4 separate regions of the Homo sapiens genome follow, and regions 2, 3 and 4 are each linked to region 1. Evidence: promoter capture Hi-C in 16 types of primary human blood cells and fetal thymus (Javierre and others, 2016). All regions are on one chromosome and are shown on one strand. The core of a region is centred on a gene start or on the middle of the fragment in contact, and the rest is flanking DNA. Distances in the headings are between cores, read along the strand shown. Region 1 holds the start of BBX (BBX high mobility group box domain containing). Region 2 overlaps LINC00882 (long intergenic non-protein coding RNA 882). Region 3 overlaps LINC00882 (long intergenic non-protein coding RNA 882). Region 4 overlaps DUBR (DPPA2 upstream binding RNA).

Region 1 (2,946 bases), core at 222-2,721:
AAAAAATAAACATCACATTTCTAAATACCACTTTGTTTTCTGAACTTTTTAAACTTTTCTGATTTTGTTTCTCTTTCTCCCTCTTACACAGGAGTGCTCACATGCACACATACACTCTTTTAACAACTTTATGGATGCGAGAGAAAAACCTTAAGACAGCATCAAGGAAATAAAAGGGGAACTGAAATAAGTTGCCCTAGTTGGGTTTTCTTTAAGTTTTAAAGCTACTTACCTAGGCCATAAAATCGTAGTGTTTATGTAATCTCCAAAATGTTTGTATTTGAGAATAATTCACCAACTCTTAAAACGGAAGGAACCCTAAGAAAACATCTAGGCCTAAGATAATGCCTGACACATAGTAGATGCTGAATAAACATTTAATTGAGGGAATCTGGAAAAGCTTCTTATTTTAATCTTAAAAATCAAAACCAAGTCTGAGCATTGGAGAGGTTAAGTAACTTGCTCAAGATTGCTCAGCTGGTTAAAGAGTTTAATCTACAATTTATTCCTTCTAATTTCCAGCTTTGACTTCTTTCCACCAACCTGTTGACTTATGTGTATTGAACTGTCTCATATAATCTTCTGAAGTTGCATTGTTGAAAAACAATCAGAAAGACCAGTCCTGAGGTTCATCATCTCCAAAAGTCATGCAACATATGATGTTCACATGAGATGTGAAATATGTAAAGAGTCATATATTTTTATATATAATATGCAAAATATAAATCATGTATATATTGAATCAAAGGTCTGTTTTGAAGGCTAAGGGTCAATAGCCAATCTTCCATGACTTATTTTACCTAACAGCACAGTTTGCATGTCCACACAGGTGATGGCAGTCCACTGACCAGTTAAAAGTTGTTTGGCTATTTCAGCAAAATGTTTATCTTTGTGTGTTGTTATATTGATTTTTTTGAATCTACCTACGAATGAGGCACTAACAACCTCAATGCATTAGAGTCCTGATAAACTTATCTTGCACTATTTTGGCCTATGTGATAGCTAACCCATTGACAAAAGAAATCCAAGGTGATAAAAGCCTTTCTTGGCCACTTGTTAGCCGGGTCAGGCTGTAAAATCGTAACACAATGCAGGCCTCTTCCATGGGGCACCAAAAGGCAGCGATGAAAAACCCCCCTCACTTCCATATCCAGTGGAGTTGTAGTTTATTACCATAACCCTCCCAAGTCAAAAGGACACCAGTTTCAAGCCTTGCAACTTGGTGCAGACAGGGGTTTTCCCCTTTACCCCACTCTGCTGGGCCTCTTTACCTGTCCTCTCCTACTGTCTACAGGTCCCGAACATTAGAAAATAGAAAATGTGATGATCTTTGTGTGTCTCTGTAAAATGTGTGTATGTGTGCGTGTGTTTGGGTGTAACGGGCCTCTTGTTTGGCTGCGCGGCCTGTCCGTCACTGCGCGGGCCAATGGCAGGCTGCCTTATATAAAATGAGTGTTTTCAGTCTCTCCGGGTTGCATGTACTGTATGTGGAGCAGTGTACAGTGAAGCGGAGGCAGAGCGGCTCCGCGAGCTTCTCTCCACTTTCCCATAGAGAAACCCTGACTGGCCGCTGAGGGCTAGCTACACACACGCCCTCACGCCCGGCGAGCCCGCGAGGTAGGCGCCCCCCATCCCCAGCCCTCCCTGGGCGCACTCCCCTCACTTTCTGTTTTCCTACTCACTTGCGAGCCGCCGGGCTGCAGCCCCAAGGACTCCGCGGCAGGAGCAGCGGCGGCGGCGGCGGCGGCGGCGGCGGCAGCCGGTAGGGTGGACTTGAGGAAGACGGAGGGAACCCCGCGCGTCCGGAGCCGCCGCCAGCCGGCCCGCTCCCTGGGCACTTTCCCCCTCCGCCAAAACTTTGGGTCGGGAGAGGTCGGGGGCGAGGGTCGCGGCGGCCGCGCCGGCTGGGGCCGGGGGGCGGGGGGCGCTGAGGCAGTGCCCTGCGAGCGGGAGGCTGGGGGCCGGGCTGGGGAGTAGTAGGCCAGCCGGTGCCAGGCTGCGTTTGCAACCAGCACCTCTCGGCACACAGGCAGCGCCGCCTGAGAGGGGCACGGGCGCCGGGGCGCGGGCTGGAGCGGCCCCAGGAAAACAACAACAGAGCCCTCACGCCGGCGGGCGGCTCGTGGCCGCCCGGGGAGCCCCAAACTTCATCTCGGCGAAAGTACGTGGAGCCCTGCCTGGTCTCGGCTGCCGGGGAGGTGGGGCCTGGGGAGCAGGGGCAGTGGAGGAAGGTACGAGGAGCCAGCCTTCGGTGGATTTATTGAACGTTTCGTCTGCGTTGGTGACCGGGAACAGCAGCCCAGTTGCTCGTTCATCTGGAGAGTTGGGATTTGGGTGTTCCGGCCCCGCAGATCAGTGCCCTCTCACCCCCCACCCCTACCCAAATGCGCGGCGAGTAGAGAAAGTGCTGTTTTAGTGCCAGAGTAGCCTGGAGGAAGAATAGGGGGAGAGGGGGAAGAGGGCGAGGGAGAAGGGGAGAGAGAAGAGGGAGGGAAGGGGGGGGAGAGAGGGAGACAGAGAGAGAGGGAGAGAGAGAACGGGAGGGAAGAGAGGAGGGGGAAGAGGAGGAGGGAGGCTGTGTCAGGATTTTGCTTGAATGTGGGATTATGTTGTGTCAATAAGTTTAAGGTGGAGAGAGCGAGGCTGAGGGTGGTGGTGGAGGGGAGGAGGAAGGCCTTGGCCGTTTAAAGTCTTATTTCTGAAGGTAAGTTACGGCTTTGCCTGGTCGCGATGACAGAAAACTTGCAGATCCTTTATCCGGGGATGGGGTCGATGCCTCTAGAAAGAGCTCCCTAGCCCTCTTAAGCCACACTCGTGTTACACTGTTATTTGCTGCGATCCGGGTCGCTAGTAAATTACAGAAATCAGACTCGAGGTTTCTTTTCCTCCTCCACCTCGTCTCGCTCACTCACCCTCTGAAATTTATTATCATATTTTATTTATTTT
Region 2 (3,028 bases), core at 75-2,574, 290 kb before region 1:
CAGGCACTCCAGCGGTGAGTAATAGGGGCCAAGGTACAGCTCAGGCTGTTTCTTCAGAGAGTGCAAGCCCCAAACCTGGGCAGCTTCCATGTGGTGTTGGGCCTGTGGGTGCTTACAAGTCAAGATTTGAGGTTTGGGAACCTCCACCTAGATTTCAGAAGATGTATGGAAATGTCTGGATGCCCAGGCAAAAGTTTGCTGCAGGGGTGGGGCCCTCATGGAGAACCTCTGCTAGGGCAGTGTGGAAGGGAAATGTGGGGTCAGAGCCCCCATACAGAGTCCCTACTGAGGCACAGCCTAGTGGAGCTGTGAGAAGAGGACCATCATCCTCCAGACCCCAGAATGGTGGATCCACCAACAGCTTGTGCCGTGTGCCTGGAAAAACCATAGACACTCAAGGCCAGTCCCTGAAAACAGCCAGGAGGAGTGCTGTACCCTGCAAAGCCACAGGGGCGGAGCTGCCCAAGACCATGGGAACCTACCTCTTGTGTGAGCATGACCTGGATGTGAGACATGGAGTGAAAAAAGATCATTTTGGAGCTTTAAGATTTGACTGCCCCGCTGGATTTCGGACTTGCATGGGGCCTGTAGCAACTTTCTTTTGGCCAATGTCTCCCATTTGGAATGGCTACCCAATGCCTGTACCCACATTGTATCCAGGAAGTAACTAACTTGCTTTTGATTTTACAGGCTCATAGGCAGAAGGGACTTGCCTTGTATCAGATGTGGACTTTTGAGTGAATGCTGAAATGAGTTAAGACTTTGGGGGACTGTTGAAAAGGCATGATTGATTTTGAAATGTGAGGACATGAGATTTGGGAGGAGCCAGGGGAGGAATGATATGGTTTGGCTGTGTCCCCACCCAAATCGCATCTTTAATTCTCACGTGTTGTGGGAGGGACCTGGTGGGAGGTAATTGAATCACGCGGGCAAGTCTTTCCCATGCTGTTCTCATGATATGAAAAAGTTTCATGAGATCTAATGGTTTTAAAAAGAGGAATTCCCGTGCACAAGCTCTCTCTCTTTGCTTGCTGCCATCCACGTAAGACATGACTTGCTCTTCCTTGCCTTCTGTCATGATTGTAAAGCTTCCCCTGCCACGTGGAAGTTTAAGTCCAATTAAACCTCTTTCTTTTGTAAATTGCCCAGTCTCAGGTATGTCTTTATTACTAGCATGAAAACAGACTAATACAATATGTCATACAAGAGAAATAGGAAATGATAGCACTAAAAGCAATGCTATGAACGTAACAGCCCCAAGCATTAAGGAATCAGGTTATTAATTGTTACCTGAAATAAACCATGTAAATGTTTTCTCAAAGTTTTATTTTTTAAAATCCATCATTGTGCCTTTGAAGTAGGAACTTTGGAAGTTTTAGAAGTGACACTCCTATAGTACTTATAGCAAAAACTACATCTTTCACGAGCAGTTTGGACTGGATTTCTACATCTATCATAACATGGATACATTTAATTTTCTAAATATCGAACGTTTCTTCTCCAGTCGTGTTCCTCATGGAGAAAGAGTCCCAGCAAAAAAACAAATGCTGAAGCAAGGCCCCAAGCTTCTAACTACTTTTGCTGAGTGACGGGGAACGCTAGCACCTTATTAGTTAATCCCAAGGGGAAGGTCTGCCATGCAGGAACTAGCAGCCCTCAGAGTCTAAAACGTGGAACATATAACATCCTACTCGCATGCTCACACATACGCATTTGCACATGGGCTGACTTACATCCAGGAGACAGCCCCTGAGCTCTTTACAAATTGCAGAGAAGCCCAGGAAATCAGCTCTAAAGATGATGTGCCTCTGCTCTGCTTCAGAGGCTCCAACTCATCCTAACTGCCCTGAGAGGTTTCCATGATCAAATCCAGGAGCAGGAGGCAGAAGAGCTGAGGCTCACAAATGGCCCATCCGGGCTTTTCCGTGGAGCCCGTTTCTGCCCGACCCCCCTGAGGAATGTAAACGATCTGTTCAGGACTGAACTGCTTTACCCTCGAGGATGTAAATTATTCATTACCCCCTCCTTCTTGCACATTTTGCCTTTCATTTGCTCCATCTACTCCCTGCTCTATCTTTACTAATTTATCTCTAAGCTACCTCAATTGCCTTCTGCTCTGCTCCCCTCAGAAACTTAAAAACGAAACCGGATTCATTAGCCAAATAACTGGATTAGAGTTCTCTTCAACATATCAGGCAGTAGAGAAAGTTGCTTTGTAATTTCTTTGATATTCAGCCTTTTAGAAAGCAATTCCTTAAATTACTCTGTTTAAATCTTTGAACTACTTAACTTTCTTTGATAGCACGCTAACATTGCACTAAAACCTGTGCAATGTTATGAAAACTTTAATTTCTGTAGTCAGTGCTTCCACATGAACAGCAGGGGGCAGTAGGATATCACGAATTGAAAAAATTGTCCTGGGCTCTGAGAAACACTGTTGAATTACTGCAGTGGGTCTGTGTACTCGTGATGATCTCAGCTCTCGGATGAAGTCTTTTGTTTTGTGTCCTATTTTACAATGCACCGTTCAGTTTTCTATATGAGTTGTGGCTTAGTCACAGTATTTCACTGTGACAGCTTAGCTTAAGAAAAAGAAAGGTGCAGGAGAAAAAAAAAAGGAGGAAAAGAGAAAGAGAACATGTAAATGCTTCCAAATAAAACACATCATGAAAAGGAAAAAGTAATCCTGTGTATACATATAAAGTTTGTCCCTTCTCTGTTCCTATCCTGGACACAGTTTTTCTAGATTACAGACTGAATTCATCCCTAGTCCTCCCCAACACACACACACACACGCACACATTTGCCATATAGTTTTCTGTCAAAACAGATTTCCTATAAAAAGAAAAACAAAAAATACAAAAAACTCTTTAAAAACTAATACTTGACTTTTTTAAAAAATTCAAAAAAATCTCTCATTTTCTGTCCTTTAATCAAGCTTCTGAGTATAGAATTTTAGTGTTTTCATGCTTTTTGAACATGTATTAGTCAAAATACCTTTCATTAATATGAATGTTGCAATAAAATT
Region 3 (2,939 bases), core at 272-2,771, 310 kb before region 1:
ACCAGGTAGCCATTATTATTCATATTTTATAAAAGAAGAAACTGTATCACAGAGGAGTTATTTTCTCCAGCTCTCATGGTCAGTAAGTAAAAGAACAAAAATTGCCTGACTGCAAAGCCAGTACTCTTTCCACTACACCAGACTTTTAGAGGACACAACTGAGAATCACAACAAAGATAACTGCTTGCATAAAACTTTGTGACCCTGCAAAGTGCTTGCAAATATTTATTTGTGAGATATTTTCTTGGAAGAATAAAACTTATTTTCCCAAAAATACAATACTAATGTTTTTGTCATAAGCTAGAACACAAAGCTTGTTTTGCCCAAAATGTGTTTAAATAAATCACACTTTAGGATTAAAAACATAATAATAGTACTGCTAATGTACTTATATTTCAATCTAAGTTGTCTTACCCTGTGGCCATATCATAAACTTCAAGTACTCTTTCTCAAAATACAATCATGGAATATGAGAACTAGAAATAACCATATAAATAGGATGGCCAACCCTCTTAGTTTTCCCAGGACTTTGGGGTCTCCAGGACAAGGGACTTTCAGTTTTAAAACAGAGACTAAAAAGATTCCTAGGACATTTCACTGCTGAAACTGGGAAAGTACCAAGCAAGCCGGGACAAGTTGATCATCCAGCAAACCATCTGGTCTAACCTCCTCATTTCACAGGTGAGGAAGCCAAGATTCATAGAAAACACATGTGTTCATAGAAAAAACACATGCCACTTCTACACTTCTTCTCTTTTAGTCTTTATACAGATTCATTCAGCCTTCAGATATCCAGTAATTTCCCAGACTTAGTCACTAGTTTAATTGCTCATAATTTTCCACTCTCCATTAAGATTTGTGTGTCAGGGACCAAATCTGTGTTCCCTTTGTATTTTCAGCACCTAGTCCAGTGCCTGACTCAGGGTATGCAACTTGTTGTATGTTTGTTGACTGCCATTGAAGGACTAGATTGTATGCTTGGGAGACTGAGGTCTTTATTCAAGTTGTATTGGATTACAGGGACAATTGTGTGTCAAAGATGGAAAGCTGAAAGCTGCAGTAGGCAACATCTTTACCAATTAAATTTTCCTTTATTTCCTGCATTTTATAGGCAGGTATTACTTTATAATAAAAATAAAAGGCATTTTTAAAAGAAAAACCATCAGTGCCTTGTGTTCCCCTGATTAACCAGAGGAATGCTGATTCAGGAGGTGAAGATCATGCCACAGGATAAATTACTGTCTTAAGTGTCCTGCTTGCCAAGGTTTCCGCCGACAGCGCAACACCCATGCATCATATTCTCCTCCTTCATTGTCCCTCACCTGTTGTCCTCACAAATTACTTGTGAAGAAAAAAAAGAGAGCGCAAGCAATCCAGTGAATAGATCCCAATCTTTGATTTATTACTATATCATTGAATGGCCCCAGTTCCTGTTCATATTGAAACCTGAACTGACAGTGCAATGTGCTTAAAAATGGATGTAGCATTTGAGATACGAGATTTCAAAGCAGGGAGTTTTTATCCAGCTGTGCTGCATCTCCACACTTGCCAAAATGCTTATGTTTCCACTTGGTGCTGCCGAGTTACACTTTTCCCTCTTAAAAAGATGAGAACCATGTGCCAGAACTCATTAAGAAATAACCCAGTAATCAGGCTGGTTCCCAAGTAGCTTTTTGACACCAAGTAACTTTCTTTGATCAGTAGAAATGGTACATTATACTCACTATAAACCTTCAAGTGGGAGACACTGCCAAGAAATTCCGAGAGATGAAAACACCAGAATTTTGAAGTTGACCCACAACTGTTTCTTTATGTCACAGTACACTGTAATTCAAAGAGTTTCATTCATTTTGAAAGTGTTTCTACCCTCACTTAAAAACATCCTTTTTCATTTTCCCCTCTTGTTGAAACTCACAGAGTATCATTGTCCTATAACTTGAAATTGTGCCCTAGAATTATTTTATTACAGTGCAAAAGTAGATGTCCAGAGATCCAAAAGCTACAGTTTGTTACTTGATGGTGCACAAAACCACATAAATGTTGCTATGTGTTCAGCTTCTTCACTCTCAGCCCTCGCTTGCTCATTTCCAAAGTTTAAAATAAGCAGTGAATGCAGATTGGCAGAGAAAAAAATCCCATCACCAAAGGACAGTATAGAGACTGAATGTTTGATATCTAGGAAAGGTAACTCTACTCTTTCTTTAAGAAAGGCTATGAGAGGTTTGTGTGTATTTTCTTTATGTAGACCGGGGATATTTTTAGCATCAGTTTGTAAGGTCACTTTCTTCTGCTCTAATGGCTACTTTCCTTAGAATTGCCAAGCACAACAAACTCCAAAACCATAGTTCCCCTTACGACAGCTCTGATTAGCTCGATGCCAAATACAATCAGAACAGCATTCAACCATTTGGGCAGAAACACACAAACAAACTCTAGTACAGGCATACCTCACTTCATTGCCCTTCCTTTTACTGCTCTTCACAGATAATAACATTTTTTGTTTTTTTACAATTGGAGTTTTGCAGCAAACCTGCGTCGAGCAAGTCTATCAGCACAAACTTTCCAACTGCACGTGCTCACTTCGTGTCTCTGTGTCACACTTCAGTAATTCTCAAAATATTTCAAATATTTTCATTACAATTATATATGTTGTGGTGACCTGTGATCAGCGATCTTTGATGTTACTACTGTAATTGCTTTGGGGCACCACAAGTTGCACCCACATGACAGCAAGCTTTTTTTTTTTTTTTTTTTTTTTGGCGATAGAGTATCACTGTGTGGCCCAGGCTGGAGGGCAGTGGCGCAATCTTGGCTCACTGCAACTTTTGCCTCCTGGGTTCAAGCAATTCTCCTGCCTCAGCCTCCCAAGTAGCTGAGATTACAGGTACCCACTACCAGGCCAGCTAATTTTTGTATTTTTAGTAAAGACAGGGTTTCAC
Region 4 (3,195 bases), core at 380-2,879, 270 kb before region 1:
GCATTCTTGTTAGATGCCCATCTATTTTGCCTATAGGGGTGTTACTTTCAATTAATTATCTCCTAAACACCCTGTGAATCAAACCCCCTTAACTACCCCTCCAATTTCACCAGTTGTTATAGTAATTATGGCCTCTTGACTTTTGGTAATTAAGCACTAGTCCTCCAGAGCCCTCTATTACTTGAGGGTCCATTACCCCTGAATCATATTAACAATCCCAGCTCTGTGACCACCTCATTTACCATCAGCCCTGGTCTAAAGAGTAAAGCCACTACTGCACTTAGTGATACTGGTACCTTCTCACAGGCTCATTCTTGGTGGCCTTAGTGAATTGTCACTATTTCATGACATATTCATCACAGTATATCCATCACATATTCATTCATCTGACCCTTATGAAGGTGTGATGGTTAATTTCATCACAGTACATACATGCCATTGTATAGCAGGTCCTTAACTAATATAGCAACACCAACGTTCTCAGGCAGAACCAATAGACCCTGTTGAAGGGCAGGCAAGCCCAGAGCAAACCATCTATATGCAGTTCTTTTAACAGCCTGCAAGGCACTGTAAGATTAGGGAGACGTTTATCGAATTATGTTCTGTGGAAAACTAGTTCCATAGGATATGAACTGATGTCAGGAGAAAAATTAAATTAGAAATTTGCTTCAGTGCCAGATTCTCAAAGCCATTCGTATGTGAATGTTTAGTGCAACTCTCCAAAAGAGATGATTTGATGTGTTACATGTGGCAGTAGTATGATGTGCAGCCCAGATCCCCCTTCAAAGAACGGCTTGCTCCCCACTTGCTGGGTGTGATGTTAGCAGGCAGCCTGCAGCTGTCAGCCCTCTTCAGGAATTGGCATAGCTGTAGAAAACCACTTCACCTAAGGTCACACTTTTTTGTGGAGTGGCCCATAGCCAAGGATTGATCAGTGTGGAGATACAAAGTTGTTCTCTTGCCCATCTGAGGACATCTCCGAGGGCCGTTTTAACTCCAGAGCTCCCTGTGGGGTTGGCCAAGGCTGTCATTGGACCTACATTATAACTCATTTTCTCCCAATTCCGCTTCTCTCTCTCTTTGAACAAATGTTTGGCAAAAGGCACTTCTTAATAAATATCCTGCAATTAAAGTATATCTCAGAATCTGCATCCTGGAGAATACTGTCTGAGACACCCCACTTTCTAATTTTGTTTGCCCATCAAAGCCCATTCCCCGCCCCCCTTTTTTTTTTGACAGAGGCTTCTTCTTTCACCTGGAAGGGAGTGCAGTGGTGCAATCTCGGCTCACTGCAGCCTCTGCCTCCCAGGCTCAAGCAATTATCCTGCCTCAGCCTCCCGAGTAGCTGGGATTACAGGTACCCACCACCACGCCTGTCTAACTTTTTGTATTTTTAGTGTAGATGGGGGTTTCACCATGTTAGTGAGGCTAGTCTCAAATTCCTGACCTCAAGTGATCCGCCCGCCTGGGCTTCCCAAGTGCTGGGATTACAGGTGTGAGCCACTGTGCCTGGCCTAAAACCCTTTTTCATAGAGTACCTAACAAGAGTAGGCCTTAAGAAATATATTCTGGATGCTGGTAAGTGCAGGTGTGAGAACTAAGTACCTATGTGGAAAGTAAGGGGAGGGGTACCCGAGACTTAAATCTCAGCTTATGAATTCCTTTGAGATTTGAAACTAGCTTAATTTTGATGTGTAACTCTAATGCTTAAAGTACTGCAGGATCTACTATCTATGGAGGTGCTACGGAGAGGATCTAAATATTATGTGACCTATGCAAATAAATTTTCTTTTCTCTGTAACAGTGTTTAAAACTCTAAGATAATCCGTGGTTGTCAGGTAAAATGCACTCATGTCTATCTGACAGATACAAATGTTTTGCATTCCAGCTGCTTTTAGATATTTAACGGGAGAGGAAAAGAGAAAATATGATTAAAGCCTTTGAAAGTCCATTTCCAAGAAATAAAAACTGCAGTAGGAATTCTACAAAACTGAAAAATCTTCAGGACTGGAAGATCTATCCAGAAAAGCCCAGTGGATTATAATAACTTATTAAAATATTTGTTTGGCAAGCCACTGACTAATACCACTTTAAGATATGAATGCATTACCAAAAAAAATTGGAGTGAGTAGTTTTTACAAGTCTTTGAAATAATCATATTTGTATTTTGACACTAATTTGAAACAAGGAGCTGGCTTGAAATATTAAACCTAAGTGATCAGAGACAATGAGCTATCAGACTGCATGATCAACGTAGAGCAATCTCCACATAAGATGAGATGCATGCAGCCTCTACAAATTTGGCTTGGGGAGGAGTTTGCTTCGCTCGCTTGAATAAGCCACTGTCTATGGCTCACAAGGGTCCCGTTCTTAATGAGGTGGTGCGTAGCAGCAACACACTGTGAATCCAAATAGCAGATGGCAACACTGTTGAGTAGGCTGGCAGTCTGATGTCTAGCCACCAACTGGCAGCAATCATTATTAAACTGATTCATGTGCCCAGGGAAAATCTTCATAAGAGTCTTAGCAAATGTGAGCAGCAAGAAGCAAATGATCTGCTATTCCTATCTGCTATGAGTACTACCTATATTTCTTAAAATATTTTTCCCCAGTGCAACCTACACAAAGAAATGGCATGTTATGTGCACTGGAGGCCCTATTCCTTTCCTATAGATGCATGTATACCTTTAAACATGATAGCTGTGATTTCTCTATTTGGTGAATAGCTTTCCCTTGACGGAAATAGCTTCATAGCATTCACCCTATGGATTTGTTGCACATATTCAATGATAGGCAAGCACTCATAGATTCTGTAAATAAATAACTGAACATATTCTATCTCACATAATGAAGCAATGGCCTACATTGCTCATAGTCCATCTACATGAGACAGGTAACTCATCCTTGGGTGAAAAGTTTGTTACACTCACACTTGGTTAGGAAAGCAGACTAAGAAAGGCTCTAGCTTTAGAAAACTTATGTAAGGATCTTTCTACAAGAAAATCTTAAAGGTATACATTTAAAAGTTAAGTCTTTATGCTGGGTGCAGTAGCTCATGCCTGCAATCTCAGCACTTTGGGAGGCCAAGGCGGGCAGATCACGAAGTTAGGAGCTTGAGACTAGCCCGGCCAACATGGTGAAACCCCATCTCTACTAAAAATACAAAAAATTAGCTGGGCGTGGTGGCACATGCCT

What was found. Contacts are between HindIII fragments. The CHiCAGO score rates a contact against its expected background, and 5 or more counts as called.
Region 2: a fragment that was not itself captured here is called in contact with the fragment with the promoter of BBX in region 1 in 10 of 17 cell types (megakaryocytes, erythroblasts, fetal thymus and 7 more); the score reaches 15.3 in megakaryocytes.
Region 3: a contact is called between a fragment that was not itself captured here and the fragment with the promoter of BBX in region 1, in 2 of 17 cell types (endothelial precursors and megakaryocytes). The highest score is 7.4, in endothelial precursors.
Region 4: a contact is called between a fragment that was not itself captured here and the fragment with the promoter of BBX in region 1, in 4 of 17 cell types (megakaryocytes, erythroblasts, M1 macrophages and 1 more). The highest score is 9.9, in megakaryocytes.

The regions. Positions count from the first base shown.
Region 1 is chr3:107,521,491-107,524,436 of GRCh38, forward strand. It overlaps BBX (BBX high mobility group box domain containing), which reads left to right and starts at 1,472. Exons shown (of 18, transcript NM_001142568.3): 1 at 1,472-1,617. RefSeq lists an enhancer at 1,089-1,138 and silencers at 1,539-1,848, 1,879-1,968, 2,079-2,148. The HindIII fragment of the contact is 5,936 bases long and covers 399-2,946 here.
Region 2 is chr3:107,233,655-107,236,682 of GRCh38, forward strand. The region is part of intron 1 of LINC00882 (long intergenic non-protein coding RNA 882); the gene reads right to left. Among named protein-coding and RNA genes, the nearest start is that of LINC00882, 5.5 kb to the right of the region's middle. RefSeq lists a silencer at 2,280-2,329. The HindIII fragment of the contact is 477 bases long and covers 1,087-1,563 here.
Region 3 is chr3:107,211,129-107,214,067 of GRCh38, forward strand. The region is part of intron 1 of LINC00882 (long intergenic non-protein coding RNA 882); the gene reads right to left. Among named protein-coding and RNA genes, the nearest start is that of LINC00882, 28 kb to the right of the region's middle. The HindIII fragment of the contact is 2,421 bases long and covers 312-2,732 here.
Region 4 is chr3:107,249,655-107,252,849 of GRCh38, forward strand. All of the region lies in intron 1 of DUBR (DPPA2 upstream binding RNA), which reads left to right. Among named protein-coding and RNA genes, the nearest start is that of DUBR, 11 kb to the left of the region's middle. The HindIII fragment of the contact is 4,555 bases long and covers 1-3,195 here.